4 separate regions of the Homo sapiens genome follow, and all the other regions are linked to region 1. Evidence: promoter capture Hi-C in 16 types of primary human blood cells and fetal thymus (Javierre and others, 2016). All regions are on one chromosome and are shown on one strand. Each heading gives the region's core, a stretch centred on a gene start or on the middle of the fragment in contact. The rest is flanking DNA. Distances are from core to core; before and after follow the strand shown.

The links. Contacts are between HindIII fragments. The CHiCAGO score rates a contact against its expected background, and 5 or more counts as called.
Region 2: the fragment with the promoter of TUBG1 here is called in contact with the fragment with the promoter of DNAJC7 in region 1 in 1 of 17 cell types (fetal thymus); the score reaches 5.2 in fetal thymus.
Region 3: a fragment that was not itself captured here is called in contact with the fragment with the promoter of DNAJC7 in region 1 in 1 of 17 cell types (fetal thymus); the score reaches 8.8 in fetal thymus.
Region 4: the fragment with the promoter of COASY here is called in contact with the fragment with the promoter of DNAJC7 in region 1 in 3 of 17 cell types (neutrophils, fetal thymus and activated CD4 T cells); the score reaches 7.4 in neutrophils.

What each region holds. Positions count from the first base shown.
Region 1 is chr17:42,015,519-42,019,050 of GRCh38, forward strand. DNAJC7 (DnaJ heat shock protein family (Hsp40) member C7) reads right to left here and starts at 1,921. Exons shown (of 14, transcript NM_003315.4): 1 at 1,822-1,921. The coding sequence starts at 1,898. It also overlaps a transcript of NKIRAS2 not described here. RefSeq lists enhancers at 1,130-2,329, 1,440-1,489, 1,560-1,969 and a silencer at 2,080-2,229. The HindIII fragment of the contact is 9,207 bases long and covers 686-3,532 here.
Region 2 is chr17:42,608,364-42,612,148 of GRCh38, forward strand. It overlaps TUBG1 (tubulin gamma 1), which reads left to right and starts at 1,320. Exons shown (of 11, transcript NM_001070.5): 1 at 1,320-1,423; 2 at 1,745-1,857; 3 at 2,060-2,227; 4 at 3,712-3,780. The coding sequence starts at 1,375. It overlaps RETREG3 (reticulophagy regulator family member 3), which reads right to left and starts at 1,011. Exons shown (of 9, transcript NM_178126.4): 1 at 723-1,011. The coding sequence starts at 961. RefSeq lists an enhancer at 893-1,002. The HindIII fragment of the contact is 4,939 bases long and covers 267-3,785 here.
Region 3 is chr17:42,527,864-42,531,627 of GRCh38, forward strand. No RefSeq gene overlaps it. Among named protein-coding and RNA genes, the nearest start is that of NAGLU, 6.5 kb to the right of the region's middle. The HindIII fragment of the contact is 6,143 bases long and covers 1-3,764 here.
Region 4 is chr17:42,560,511-42,564,282 of GRCh38, forward strand. It overlaps COASY (Coenzyme A synthase), which reads left to right and starts at 1,638. Exons shown (of 9, transcript NM_025233.7): 1 at 1,638-2,812; 2 at 3,451-3,665. The coding sequence starts at 2,113. RefSeq lists enhancers at 1,714-1,963, 1,974-2,163. The HindIII fragment of the contact is 14,901 bases long and covers 1-3,772 here.

The DNA of each region.
Region 1 (3,532 bases), core at 671-3,170:
AGATTTACAATGAGTAGGGTGAGTTTTTAAAATTACCTATGGCCAGCCCGGCACAGTAGCTCACGCCTGTAATCCCAGCACTTTGGGAGGCCGAGGTGGGCGGATCACGAGGTCAGGAGATCGAGACCATCGTGGCTAACAGGGTGAAACCCCATCTCTACTAAAAATACAAAAAAAAAACAACAATTAGCCGGATGTGGTGGTGGGCACGTGTAGTCCCAGCAACTGGTGAGGCTGAGGCAGGAGAATGGTGTGAACTCAGGAGGCGGAGCTTGCAGTGAGCTGAGGTCGCGCCACTACACTCCAGCCTGGGCGACAGAGCGAGATTCCGTCTCAAAAAATAAAAAATAAATAACCTGTGGCCAAATCCCTATTTACAGTATAAAGAACCACTGAACTCTTTCCAAATACAAGTAAATCTCTACAATTAATTTAAGCTCCGTCTGCACTGGGAGGAATTTTGTTTCCCATTGTGCAGCTCTTTAATGATGTATAAGGGTTGATGATGCTTAGCTTTAAATATCTAGGAAGAAGTAGGAACAACATGAAAGCTCAAAATTAAGAACAGAGACTGGACTCTGGTGTCCTGGCTTCTCTGATATCCCAGGGGCCTATTACACTTTGTCAGGCCCCTCAGCTCCCAGCAGATCAGGAACTTGAGATCTGGCTGTGGTAACCACCCTCAAGCTTGATAACTATTCATTGCGTCCGAGTACTTCTTATATTTCGAACTCATTAGATAGTAAAAATCTCAGAATCCTGATTTCAGATCTCATGAACTAATTCTACATCACCGCCTCAAATTACCCAGCCTGAAGACACAACGGGCTTGGTATGAAGATATAAAGTATGTTGCAAAGAGACTGAGGGCACTGTAGATATCTTGAACAAAAGGGTCAGACTAACCCGCAGCTGATAAGGAAAGGGCTCCAAACTTCTAGAACCTTCTTGTCAATTCTGCTTTAGGATTAGAACAAGTATGACTACCCACAACTCTGTTCCAACCCCACTTCCAATAATCTGGCCTAACTGTTGCCAGAATCTAGAGCGTTCTCGAAAACCACTCACTCAGCAGCTCCCTTGGCTAGTCCGACTGGCAATCTCGAACCACTGCGGCTGCTTCGGAGTGCCAACAGCGCCCAAGCAGTTGCCCTCTTCCTTGGTGCTTAACTTAAGAAAGAACAGTGCTGGGAAGGATAAAGATCACCCAGGAAGGACAGGGGAAGAGGAGTCTGACGTAGAGAACACGAGATAAGCCCCTCGCTCTTCCTTTTTTTCTCTGTCATCTTTGACTTCTGGGATAACCGGGGGCAACCAGGTCAATTATGGAGACACACAATCACTTCGAACCCAGACTAGTGATCGCTGGGGTATAATTACAAGGGAAAACGGGGTGAGGAGAGCAAAGGTTTTGGAGACGGAAAGTGCAGACAGGCAACAATGCACAGAAGTTAACAAGAGAACGCGGGGGTCGGGGGCGATGTAAGGAAGTCGTCATCGACGCCGCGCCGCTTCCCCCACCTCGCACCAGACCTCTGAAATTGCCCTCGGAGACTCGGCCTCTCCTATAAGGACGATCGTCCTCTCAGCTGGAGAACAAGGCCATGCCTCAGCTCCTACGCCAGGCGGAAGCGGGAGAGGAAGGCCGACCCCCAAGAGCGCCCCTTCAGGGGGTCCATCCGGCCTTGATCTCAGATGGGGGGGTGTTTGCGGAGGGCGGGGCATCGCCTCAACAGCTGGGGGCTGCATCATGGCAGGAACGAGTTTCCCTGAGCCACGGAGCTGCAGGTCGCCTCCTCTACTACCCTGCTACCCGGTTACCTCTTCGCCTCTTGGTCGTCGAGCAGCTCCGGCTCGGTCGCCGCCATTACCACATCGCACTCCGCGGCAGCCGCCATCTTACCGCCGGGACCAGAGAGCTGGGTGGGAGGCCGGCGGTGAAGAGCACTTCCGGTTGGAGCATAGAGCAGCTCCGCGGCGCCGCGCCCAGAAGGGCTCCCTCGGGCTCGTCTACCAGAGAGAGGCTCCGCTTGGGGCCAGAGCGGCCTCCCGCCCCCGGATGTCCACGGTGGTCTCCGCGCCGGGGCGGGAGCCCAGGGGCTGTGCCGGTGCGTAGGCGGCGCCACTTTACCCGTGGGTGGGAAGGCGGGGTGTACCGGTGGTAGCCTCTCTAGGGCTTGGCTGCTTTCAGTATTCCAAGAGCCTCATTGCCATAGCAACTTCCAATCCTAGAGAGTCTTCCTGAAAGGCTCCGTGGAGTCTGGGTTGCGTGGGGACCAGGTGACCCAAGACTCTGTAGGGAAGGAGTCCCCACTGCTACCTTTCCGACCTTGGAGTGTGTCCACAGCTTCTTCCCGGGAAAGTCAAGAGACACTTTGAGCTCAGTTCCCCCAGCTTTCATCGTTCTCTGGAAGCCCTGCCCAGTCAAGCCAGGGGAACGCAGGGCGTCTTCACCCTGCGCCTTTCATCCACTCCGGATCTCCAAACACCAACTGGTTCATCACCCTAATGACGCTGACCCTTTTACAAGGCTCCTTTCATGTCAGCCGCCTGGGAGTGCCATCTCAGCATTAAGCCTAGGAAAGCTGACACATGGCGCCCCAGACCCTGCCCTGGAGTTTATAAGGAAGCTCGCGGGGTGAGGTCCTTGCTCTTGTGTCCCCAGTACTCCCACCTCTTATATAAACTCTCTACTCATCACGCTTGCCTTGCCGAATGCGGTCTGGATTGAGAATTCATAGGGGACAAGGGCACAGTTTAACTGTCTTTGTTGTTATTCCCTCACCCAAACGACTATTTGTGGAGCTGAATTAAATTGGAGCTTTCTGGGGTTAAATTGGAGGAGTATGAGGAGTAGCTTTACAATGTAAAGCTAAGAGTAAAATAAGAAGAGGGCAAAGGAATTTTAAAAGGATTTACCTGTTTGTTCCAGGAAAACAGCATGTGCCAATGCTCATACTCTGCCTATCCCAGTGTGGAGGGAGCTGAAACCACAGCGACCACTGAGTAGGGAGGGATAGGACAAGCTCACTAGGTTGGAAAGGAGGGGTCATTCGTTGAGCCAATCACTCAGCCCTTTCCAAAACGCCTACTCTGTGCTAGGTTGTGAGGGCACAAGACTTACAGACCACCTGCCCTGCCTGCCAGTGGCTCATAGTCCAGTCTAATGCTAGCCAACCTGTCTCACCATCTTCCCACTTTATGTTCTATCTAAGGCAACTCATTTATTCCCACAGCTTTACTTCCATCTGTTGATGACTCTCAACTTTTCATATCTCCAACCTAGACCTTTCTTCAGCTTCCACAGCTGTATATCCAACTATCTACTGGATATCTCTTGTATGTTTCACAAATCCCCAAGGCTTACCATATTTAAATTTAACTTTTTCATTGTCTACCCACACCTCAACAACAGAAAAAACAAATGTTGGATGTAATTATTATCTTTCCTAAATTCCGTATCTTGTTAAATGGATTAAACCATTCTCACTCTTGGCTTCCAATTTGTTGCCAAGTTTTGTTGATTCTCCTA
Region 2 (3,785 bases), core at 70-2,569, 590 kb after region 1:
TCAGGAAAACTCACACACAGTATTAGACATCAATTTCCTTGCCTATAAACCATGGCTAAGGATGCCTCTCTAATTCCTTGGAACAGGGAGGAGTTACAATCACAGGTGGCTTTGACACGCGTGTAATCTCCGTCATCATTTCCTAACTGTTCTTTAAAAGCTTGTAATTTTCTTTCAATTTTCAGCTTTGGGGGCTCACACTGACGCTTAGACTTCATAAACTTCCTTCCTAGATATATAACATGCTAATTCATGCGAATCGCTCAAGCTTGTTTTATAATCACACCTATGGATACCTTTGCAAGACTTCACGCCTCTACTCCAACAATAAACTACTAAAACCTCTGGAAACAATCTAGAACTTGCACTTGAGCAGACAAGAGAAAGGAAGTGATGGCTTTAAAGGGACGCAGCTTTGTCGGGCTCAAAAGAGGAGCCCTCGCTCACTCTTGAGCGGCTCAAGATGTTACCAGAAGCTCCCGCCAGATGTGCGGGGCGGGGGTGCGGGCACAGGTAAGGCAGAGAAGATGGGTGGACGGCCCTGGGAAGAACTAGGGTGCCGAAGCCTGCAGGCGGGATGGAGTGGAAGGAGGTGAGGCAAAATTAGGCAAGTACAGGAAGGAGCCAGTGCAGCGAAGAAAACAGGGCAGGCGAGAAGTAGAGCCCTAGAGGAACCAACGAATTCGGGACTCGGAGGGTTTCCGAGGGTCCAGTTCTCTCACCAGAAAGCCGCGTTCAGCCCCAGGCACCACAGAGCGCTCCTAGCTGGCCGCTCCCACACCAGGGCTGCCTGCACCCGACTCAGCAGAGGCTCGTAAGGCCCCAGCACCTCCACCAGGGCCCGCTGCGCCGCCTCAACCTGCTGGTCCCGCTCCCAGGAGCCTGACACATCTCGGCGGCCCCTGAAAGTCGACCCCGAAGCCGGGCCTGGGGTCGTGGGAACCCCTTCGGCCTCAGCCATCTCCCCGCGGCAGCCACAACATCCGGGGCCGTGGCCCGACAAGTCACAATAACAGCAACTGCGCAGATGCGCGATTCGGCGGGGGAGGTGGCTTCGCACCACAGCGCGCTTGCGCGCAGGCCCAAGCAGGCGCCCACCCAGAGGGGAGGGAGGACGCCGTACCCCGCCCTCACTGAGGCGCGGAGCCGGATCCGGAGGCGCCGAGCCGCATCCGGAGCCGCGCACGCGCAATCTGCATGAACGAAGGCCAGTGCTTAAAGACGTGCCATTCATTGCCAGAACTCGATTCTCATTGGAGCGGAGGAAGTTCGTGGGTGGAGCTGGTTGTTTGGCGCCTGCGTCTTGCGGCGAGCGGGCTGGCGTGCGGCGCCGTTGCGGGCGGGAGCGGCTGCAACGCCGGTGCCTGAGGAGCGATGCCGAGGGAAATCATCACCCTACAGTTGGGCCAGTGCGGCAATCAGAGTGAGCGAAACTCCGGCCCCTCAGCTAGCCAGGTTCCTTAGGGTCAATGGGATCTCGCTGTGGGATCCTGGACTCCATCTGTCCTTGCCAGAATCGTAGTTCTCTGAAAGGCGAGACATCCCTGACCCAGTGTCCACTTGCCCAACCCCGAGGGGCCCTCCCCTGCCCAGTCCCTGGCGTACAGTCCTTTCCTCAGACACGGGAGAGTCCTGCGGCTTGACTTCTTATCCCTGGACGCAGGCGCCCAGTCCCCCGGCTCCTGATTGGAACCTGCCCGGACCTAGATATCTTCTTTCTCCCCTGCCCGCCCCTTCCCCCCAGTTGGGTTCGAGTTCTGGAAACAGCTGTGCGCCGAGCATGGTATCAGCCCCGAGGGCATCGTGGAGGAGTTCGCCACCGAGGGCACTGACCGCAAGGACGTCTTTTTCTACCAGGTGCCCCCAGCGACTTGGCCGGGGGCGGCAGTTGCCCAAGGGGGCGGAAGGGAAGGGAGTGGCCTGGTACTGGGAACCCCGCTGGGCAGTAGGGCCAGGCGGCTGGCTTGAGGAGGGAGGGCCGGAGGGAGCCAGAGTTGGGAGGACTTCGGACTTGGGCCGCCCTAGCTGATTGGGCCCCCTCCTGGACTCCCCTTGACAGGCAGACGATGAGCACTACATCCCCCGGGCCGTGCTGCTGGACTTGGAACCCCGGGTGATCCACTCCATCCTCAACTCCCCCTATGCCAAGCTCTACAACCCAGAGAACATCTACCTGTCGGAACATGGAGGAGGAGCTGGCAACAACTGGGCCAGCGGATTCTCCCAGGTCGTTTCCTATTCCCTGGCAGGGCCCACAACTCGCTGGGTAGGGACAGGCTCTATGACGTCCCGAAGAGAGGGAAAACCGGATCAGGGATGTATGAATGCTGGAGGGAGAGACCTGGCTGCAGGGAGTGGACTATGTAATATTGTCAAGCGCCTACACTAGCTAATGCAGTGTGCCAGGTCATTCTAAGTGCTTTACATATATTAATTTTTCTAAATCTCCCAACAACCCTAGAAGTAAGTACTACAGGTCCACAGTCCCTTATCTGCCTTTCCAGGATCCAGAAAGCCATGAAACCAAAGGACATTTCATAACTAGTTTATCAGCAAAAACAAATTTCAATGAAGACAGGCTGTTTTATAGTTTCTTTTTTTTAATTTTTATTTATTTATTTTTTTTGAGACGGAGTCTCACTCTGTCGCCCAGGCTGGAGTGCAGTGGCACGCTCTCAGCTCACTGCAACCTCTGCTGCCCGGGTTCAAGCGATTCTCCTGCCTCAGCCTCCCGAGTAGCTGGGATTACAGGTGCTTGCCATCACGCCTGGCTAATTTTTGTATTTTTAGTAGAGACGGGGTTTTACTGTGTTAGCCAGGGTGGTCTTGATCTCCTGACCTCGTGATCCACCTGCCTCGGCCTCCCAAAGTGCTGGGATTGCAGGCGTGAACCGCCATGCCCGGCCCTATAGTTTCTATCCAACTTACTGTCATTAGTGATGCCTTTTATTACAGAAATACTAATATATTTGATTAACGTGCTTCTGATTAAATAAAAATTCCCACTGGAATTTTATTTAATATATAGTATATATACCATAATACCTTTCTAAAATCTGAAATATTTTGAATTCCAAAACATAACTGGCCCCAACACTGTTAGATAAGGGTATATGGACCTGTATTATTACCTTCATTGTACAGATGAGGAAACTGAGGCATAGAGCAATTAAATAAGCTGCCCAGAGCTACATAGAAGTAGAGTTAATGGGCCAGGCGTGGTGGCTCACGCCTGTAATCCTAGCACTTTGGGAGGCCAAGGCAGGCAGATCACCTGAGGTCAGGAGTTCAAGACCAGCCTAGCCAACATGGTGAAACTCTGATTCTACTAAAAATACAAAAAATAGCTGGGCATGGTGGCATGCGCCTATAATCCCAGCTACTGGGGAGGCTGAGGCAGGAGAATCGCTTGAACCCAGGAGACGGAGGTTGCCATGAGCCAAGATCGCGCCACTGCACTCCAGCCTGGGAGAAAGAGAGAGACTCCATCGCAAAAAAAAATAGAGCTAATGTATGAACCCAGGTAGTCTGGGTGTAGAGTGCTTTCTTGTAACCACTGCACCGTACTGCCTCTCAATGTAGATAAAAGCAGGTAGCTATGCTCCATAAAAGGACTTCTGGGTGTTATAAGGAGAATTGAGGGTGGCTTTTCTGAGGTCAGAGACCTCCCATGGTTCTGTCCCACTCTGACCCTCCCCTATGTCTGTACAGGGAGAAAAGATCCATGAGGACATTTTTGACATCATAGACCGGGAGGCAGATGGTAGTGACAGTCTAGAGGTAAG
Region 3 (3,764 bases), core at 1,184-3,683, 510 kb after region 1:
TCCCAGCTAGTCTGGAGGCTGAGACAGGAGATGGCACCACTGCACTCCAGCCATGGGGGACAGAGCCAGACTCCATCTCAAAAAAAAAAAAAAAAAGGCGATCAAACAGTACTAAAGGCCCTATTATCAAATAAATAAATAAATAAATAAATAAAGGCTTTCACTCACAGTGTGACTCTCCCCCTCCCTCCCACAACCACTGTTTACAGAGCCTTAAAAAAAAAGCAAACAAACAGATGATAATGTGTTATCTTGCTCTGTCACTCTGTGGCCTGGCCTGCAGTGCTGTGGTGCCATCTGGACTCACTGCAGCCTCGACCTCCCAGGCTCAAGCGATCCTCCCCTCTCAACCTCCCTAGTAGCCGAGACCACAGGTGCATGCCACCATGCCGGGCTAATCTTTGTATTTTTTGTAGAGAAGGGGTTTTGCCATGTTGCCTAGGCTGGTCTCGGACTCCTAGATTCAAGTGATCCGCCTGCCTCAACCTCCTAGGATCAGGGGCCACCGCAACGGGCTAGACTTTTTTTTTTTTTTAAGTCAGGGTCTTGCTTTGTTGCTGCCGAGACCAGCTGGGTCAGAGAGACCCTAACCCAGCGGCGCTAGAGGAATTAAAGACACACATACAGAAATATAGAGGTGTGAAGTGGGAAATCAGGGGTCTCACAGCCTTCAGAGCTGAGATCCCTGAACAGAGATTTACCCACATATTTATTAACAGCAAGCCAGTCATTAGCATTGTTTCTACAGATATTAAATTAACTAAAAGTATCCTTTGTGGGAAACGAAGAGATGGGCAATTAAAGGAATAGGTTGGGCTAGTTAACTGCAGCAGGAGCATGTCCTTAAGGCACAGATCGTTCATGCTATTGTTTATGGCTTAAGAATGCCTTTAAGCAGTTTTCCACCCTGGGCAGGCCACGTGTTCCTTGCCCTCATTCTGGTAAACTGACAGCCTTCCAGCGTGGGCGTTATGTTCATCATGAACATGTCACAGTGCTGCAGAGATTTTGTTTATGGCCAGTTTTGGGGCCGGTTTATGGCCAGATTTTGCGGGGCTTGTTCCCAACAGTTGCCTGGCTTGGAGTGCAGTGGTGTGATCATGGCTCACTGCAGCCTCAAACCCCTGGGCTCAAGCCATCCTCCCACCTCAGCCTACTGAGGAGCTAGCTGGGACCACAAACACAGGCCTCTGTGCCCAGATGATTTTTGTAGAGACAGGGTTTTTCCATGTTACCCAGGCTGGTCTCAAACTCCTGGACTCAAGTGTTCCACCTGCCTCAGCCTCCCTAAGTGCTGTGACTACAGGTGTGAGCCACCACATCTAGCACACCTAGTGCAGTCCTTCTAGAGACTGGGCCACTCCCAGCCCCGGAGCAACCTTACTTAAGCCCTCCCCGATCAGATAGGCAGCCTGACAAGTTGCATTTCCTGGGGAAGAGCAGCAAGAACCCTGCTCTGGGAGTCAGGAGTTCCCGATTCTAGCCCAGAGCTGCTTTCCTTACTAGTTATTGATCTTGCCCAACTCACTTCCTGTCTCTGGCTCTGTTTCCCAATCTGTAAAATTGTTACTGGAAAGGGGTCCCAATCTAGACCCAAAGAAAGGTGAGGAGAGCAAAAATCACCCCCCCCAAGACAAAAAGTTCTTATCTGAGCAATTTAGATAAGGAGCAATCCGCCAGGCGCAGTGGCTCACACCTGTAATCCCAGCACTTTGGGAGGCCGAGGCGGGTGGATCACGAGGTTAGGAGATCGAGACCATCCTGGCTAACATGGTGAAACCTCGTCTCTACTAAAAATACAAAAAATTAGCTGGGCGTGGTGGCGGGGCACCTGTAGTCCCAGCTACTCGGGAGGCTGAGGCAGGAGAATGGCATGAACCCGGGAGGCGGAGCTTGCAGTGAGCAGAGATCGAACCACTGCACTCCAGCCTGGGTGATAGAGCAAGACTCCGTCTCAAAAAAAAAAAAAAAAAGGAGCAATCCAAGGAGCAAAGACCACCTGTTGACCATCAAACAGGCCATCTGGAGGCGAAACTCCTTGCCTGGGGAATTTAGAAGTAATAAAGGCCAGGCATGGTGAATCACACACACTTTGTGAGCACTTTGGGAGCCAAGGCAGGTGGATCACTTGAGGTCAACAGTTAGAGACCAGCCTGGCCAACATGATGAAACACCCTCCCTGCAAAAATTAGCCGGGCATGATGGTGCATGCCTGTAATCCCAGCTACTCAGGAGACTAAGACAGGAGAATTGGTTGAACCAGCAGGCAGAGGTTGCAGTGAGCTGAGATCAGGCCACTGCACTCCAGCTTGGGCGACAGAGGGAGACTCTGTCTCAAAAGAAAAAACAAACAAAAAAAACTTCCCTAGTATTTAAAGTCGGCATCTGATTCCAAGCCTCTTTCAACTTTTATAAGTAACTAAAATGTCTATACATTCTTTTTAAAAAAAAAAAAAAATTCAACAAACACTTATTTCTCACACTTCTGGAGGCTAGGAAGTCCAAGATCAAGGTGCTTATAGATTCAGTGTCTGGTGGGGGCTCACTTCCTGCTTTATGAGCTATGCCTTCTCACTGTGGTTTCACATGGTAGAAAGGGGTAGGGCTTTCTCTCTGGCCTCCCTTACAAAGGCACCAACCCCATTCCTGAGGGCTCTGCCCTCACAACGTAAAATTTCTGTACATTCTATGCCATGCTGAAGCTCATTTTACAACCCTAAGCTCTCACCTTAAGGTCCATACATGCTCCTAAGGAAAATCCACCACAGCGCACTCAGTCCTCCCGTGGAGGCACCTGCTGCACTCTGCTGCAGTGTTCTTCCTTTCTAATAAACTTTCCTTTTCCAAACCTATACTGTTGTCAGTAAGTTCTTTCTTTTTTGAGACCCCTCCCCCCACCCCAAGACATGCCAGTAGTCCCAGCTAGTTGGGATGCTGAGACAGGAGATGGCACCACTGCACTCCAGCCTGGGCAACAGAGCGAGACTCATCTCAAAAAAAAAAAAAAAAGGATCAAACAGTACTAAAGACCCTATTATAAAAGTCTTTCACTCACAGTGTCCCTGAATCTCCCCCTCCCTCCCACAACCACTGTTTACAGAGCCTTAAATAAACAGATGATAATGTGTTACCTTGCTCAGTCCCTGGCCTGGAGTGCTGTGGTGCCATCTGGACTCACTGCAGCCTTGACCTCCCAGACTCAAGCGAGCCTACCCTCTCAACCTCCTCAGTAGCTGGGACCACAGGCACATGCCATCATGCTGGGCTAATCTTTGTATTTTTTGTAGAGAAGGAGGGGTTTTGCCTTGTTGCCCAGGCTGGTCTTGGACTCCTAGATTCAAGTGATCTGCCTGCCTCAACCTCTTAGGATCAGGGGCCACTGCAATGGGCTAGACATTTTTTTTTTTGAGTCAGGGTCTTACTCTGTTGCCTGGCCTGGAGTGCAGTGGTGTGGTCATGGCTCACTGCAGCCTCAAACCCCTGGGTTCAAGCCGTCCTCCTGTCTCAGCCTCCTGAGGAGCTAGCTGGGACCACAAACACAGGCCACTGTGCCCAGATGATTTTTGTAGAGACAGGGTTTCTCCATGTTACCCAGGCTGGTCTCGAACTCCTGGACTTAAGCGCTCCACCTGCCTCGGCCTCCCTAAGTGCTGTGACTACGGGTGTGAGCCACCACATCTAGCACACCTAGTGCAGTCCTTCTGGAGAGTGGGCCACTCCCAGCCCCGGAGCAGCCTTACTCAAGCCCTCCCTGATCAGATAGG
Region 4 (3,772 bases), core at 388-2,887, 540 kb after region 1:
AGACCCTATCTTTAAATCTAACATGTCTCCTGTGAGAAGCCTGGTCCCTTAATACCTTTGTGGCTCTACAACTCTTCCCTCCTTGACTGTATCTCTTCCTCCAGGTCTTTGCTGTTTTCCTGAATCACCTTATCTAAAATAGCATCTCCTTTTCTCCATCATAAGCCCAGGTTTTGTGGGGCTGGGGGCTTATTTGCTTTTGGAGACCGTCTTCAAGAATACAAAAGATAAACACAAAATTACATATAAAAGTGAGTTTTGTTTTTTTTTTTAAGTTTCGGATACCACGGCACATTACTGGAATCTTGGAGACTGGCTTCTCTCCCTTTTGATCTCCATGCACAACTTACCTGAGATGTATTCTAATAGCAACCTGGCTTCCCCTCCACACTCAGCCTTTCAAGCGCCCATTAGCTTCGCAGTAAATCTCCCACACTAGGTATCCAGCCTTTGCCTTTTTCTTTTTTCTTTTTTTTTTTCCAGAGGGAGTTTCGCTTTTTTTTTTTTTTTTTTTTTTTTGAGACGGAGTCTCACTCTGTCACCCAGGCTGGAGTGTAGTGGTGCGATCTCGGCTCACTGCAAGCTCTTCCTCCCGGGTTCACGCCATTCTCCTGCCTCAGCCTCCCGAGTAGCTGGGACTACAGGCGTCTGCCACCATGCCCGGCTAATTTTTTTTTGTATTTTTAGTAGAGACGGGGTTTCACCGTGTTAGCCAGGATGGTCTCGATCTCCTGACCTCGTGATCCGCCCGCCTCGGCCTCCCAAAGTGCTGGGATTACAGGCGTCAGCCACCGCGCCCGGCCGGGAGTTTCGCTCTTGTTGCCCAGGTTGGAGTGCAATGGCACAATCTTGGCTCACCGCGACCTCCGCCCACGGGTTCAGGCGATTCTCCTGCCTCAGCCTCCTGAGTAGCTGGGATTACAGCCATGCGCCACCACGCTCGTCTAATTTTGTATTTTTAGTAGAGACAAGGTTTCTCCATATTGGTCAGGTTGGTCTCGAACTCCCGACCTCAGATGCTCTGCCCACCTCGGCATCCCAAAGTGCTGGGATTACAGGCGTGAGCCACCGCGCCCAATCAGCCTTTGCCTTTTTCTCCTGTCCACAGAGACCCCGCAAACAAGCGCATCAGAGGATCTGGGTGGTGCGAGAGCCTCCTACAGCAGCCAGGTACACACAAGGCCTCAGTTTTTCCATCTGTGAAATGGGTACGTGGACAGACCTGTCCAGTAGCCTCCCATGTGAGAATCCTCGGACTGAGAGGGTACTAGGAGGGCTAATACAGCGCAGCCCTGTGATTCCCCACCTCTGTCCCTGGAATGAAGGAAATCTGGGTGTTAGTTCTGGCTTTGCCGATGCCTCTTGGGTGGCCTGGCTGAAACTAATCTCTCCTCATCAGGCCAGAAGGGAATCTGTGAAATGGGCTTTGAAACCTGCCTTGCCTTTCTCCGCCCGGTCCCAGCGGGGGTCCGATCGGCATCAAGGCTTCACCCACTCCCAGAGCCTTCGGGATCAGCCCCACCCCATCAGCAGGACACAGCCCATGCCACTGGAAATCTCGCGAGAATCCCGCGCTGAAGCGAAGTCGAGACGTTTGACCTTCCTCCGTTTCCGTAGTTCCGAGTTGCGGTTTCTCCGTTAGTGCTTCCGGGTTGCAGCCAGGGAAGCCTCCGCGGTGGTGCAAGTGGAACCCAAGCCTTGAGGTTTCAGTGAGTAGGGGGCCGACGTGAGCTTTAGCGTCCCCCTTTAGCCTCCCTCTTCGATTCCTTGAAGACCCTGGTGCAGCTTAGCAAGAGGGCCCAGGATTTTTGGATCCCCAGCCCTGTGACAAGGGTTCCTGTCCAGTTTCCCCCTCCCAGGATTTCGACTCAGTTCAGCGAAGTCACCGCCCCGTCTGAGAAATGAGGACACCAAGGCTTAGAGCACAGCCCCGAGGCGCCGTCTACCAGGCCCCGTCCCCTCCCCCGGCTCCTGTCGGTCAGCACTGAAACCCCGTCCCTGCTCCAGGCCTCCTTCTCTGGGGTCCAAGGTCCCATACAGGCCTCTGCCTCGGCCGCAGGCCCTTCAGTCACCGTCGCCTCGTCTCCCTGACTGTCCGCAGGCCTGGGCAGCATGGCCGTATTCCGGTCGGGTCTCCTGGTGCTGACGACGCCGCTGGCCTCCCTAGCCCCTCGCCTGGCCTCCATCCTGACCTCGGCGGCCCGGCTGGTGAATCACACACTCTATGTTCACCTGCAGCCGGGCATGAGCCTGGAGGGCCCGGCTCAGCCCCAGTCCAGCCCCGTGCAGGCCACGTTTGAGGTTCTTGATTTCATCACGCACCTCTATGCTGGCGCCGACGTCCACAGGCACTTGGACGTCAGAATCCTACTGACCAATATCCGAACCAAGAGCACCTTTCTCCCTCCCCTGCCCACCTCAGTCCAGAATCTCGCCCACCCGCCAGAAGTCGTGTTGACAGATTTCCAGACCCTGGATGGAAGCCAGTACAACCCGGTCAAACAGCAGCTAGTGCGTTACGCCACCAGCTGTTACAGCTGTTGTCCGCGACTGGCCTCGGTGCTGCTATACTCCGATTATGGGATAGGAGAAGTGCCCGTGGAGCCCCTGGATGTCCCCTTACCCTCCACGATCAGGCCAGCTTCCCCCGTGGCCGGGTCTCCAAAGCAGCCGGTGCGTGGCTACTACCGTGGCGCTGTCGGTGGCACGTTTGACCGCCTGCACAACGCCCACAAGGTGTTGCTCAGTGTCGCGTGCATCCTGGCCCAGGAGCAGCTTGTGGTGGGAGTAGCAGACAAAGATCTGTTGAAGAGTGAGTAAGAGGGACCCTGGACTAGGGTGGAGGATCCCCAAATCTCCCCACCCCCGACCCTTATGCCGAGATCAAGGAAGGGTAGGGCCATTCATTACTTCCCACCCTTCCCAAATGTCACAGTGGTTGACACTCAATTGGTGCTAAGGCCATTTTGTCAAATGAACAGCTTTCTCAGCATGTGGTCCAGTCACCACTCAATCAGAATACCCCAAATGTGAAGCAAAGGGATCTGCATTTTAGCAAGTTTTCCAGGTGATACACCCTAATGAGACACTGGGAATGAATGGGTGAGTGAGCTGCAGGTAGCAGTGCCACAGACAGGAGGAGGAAACTCAAGCATGGCATGGGTCTTGGAATTTTCCATCTGCCTCTGATGCCCTCTGGCACTGCTCGTTCTCTGGAGTGGTTTCCTGGTGGCTTATTCTCTGGACACATGCCAGCCCTTGGAGTGACTATTGTGCTTGCCTGTTTCTTCACCTTCATGCTCCCCTCACCATCACCATAGGCCTTACCAGTTGAACCCTTTCTGCCACCCCCTCTGGGGATACTGTACTTAGGGACACTTTTTCCCAAACTGGCCCATACTCTCCTCCCCAATAAAAAGATCTCACTGTTCTTCTGGGCTCCTTCCCCAGGCAAGTTGCTCCCTGAGCTGCTCCAACCTTATACAGAACGTGTGGAACATCTGAGTGAATTCCTGGTGGACATCAAGCCCTCCTTGACTTTTGATGTCATCCCCCTGCTGGACCCCTATGGGCCCGCTGGCTCTGACCCCTCCCTGGAGTTCCTGGTGGTCAGCGAGGAGACCTATCGTGGGGGGATGGCCATCAACCGCTTCCGCCTTGAGAATGTAACCCCTGAGGGAGACTGGCAGAGGGAGTGGATGGGGGACGGGGAAGGCCATTTTGAGGGGGCTGTTGGAAGTACCATGGCCCCAGAGGAGAGAAGTGGGGGCTC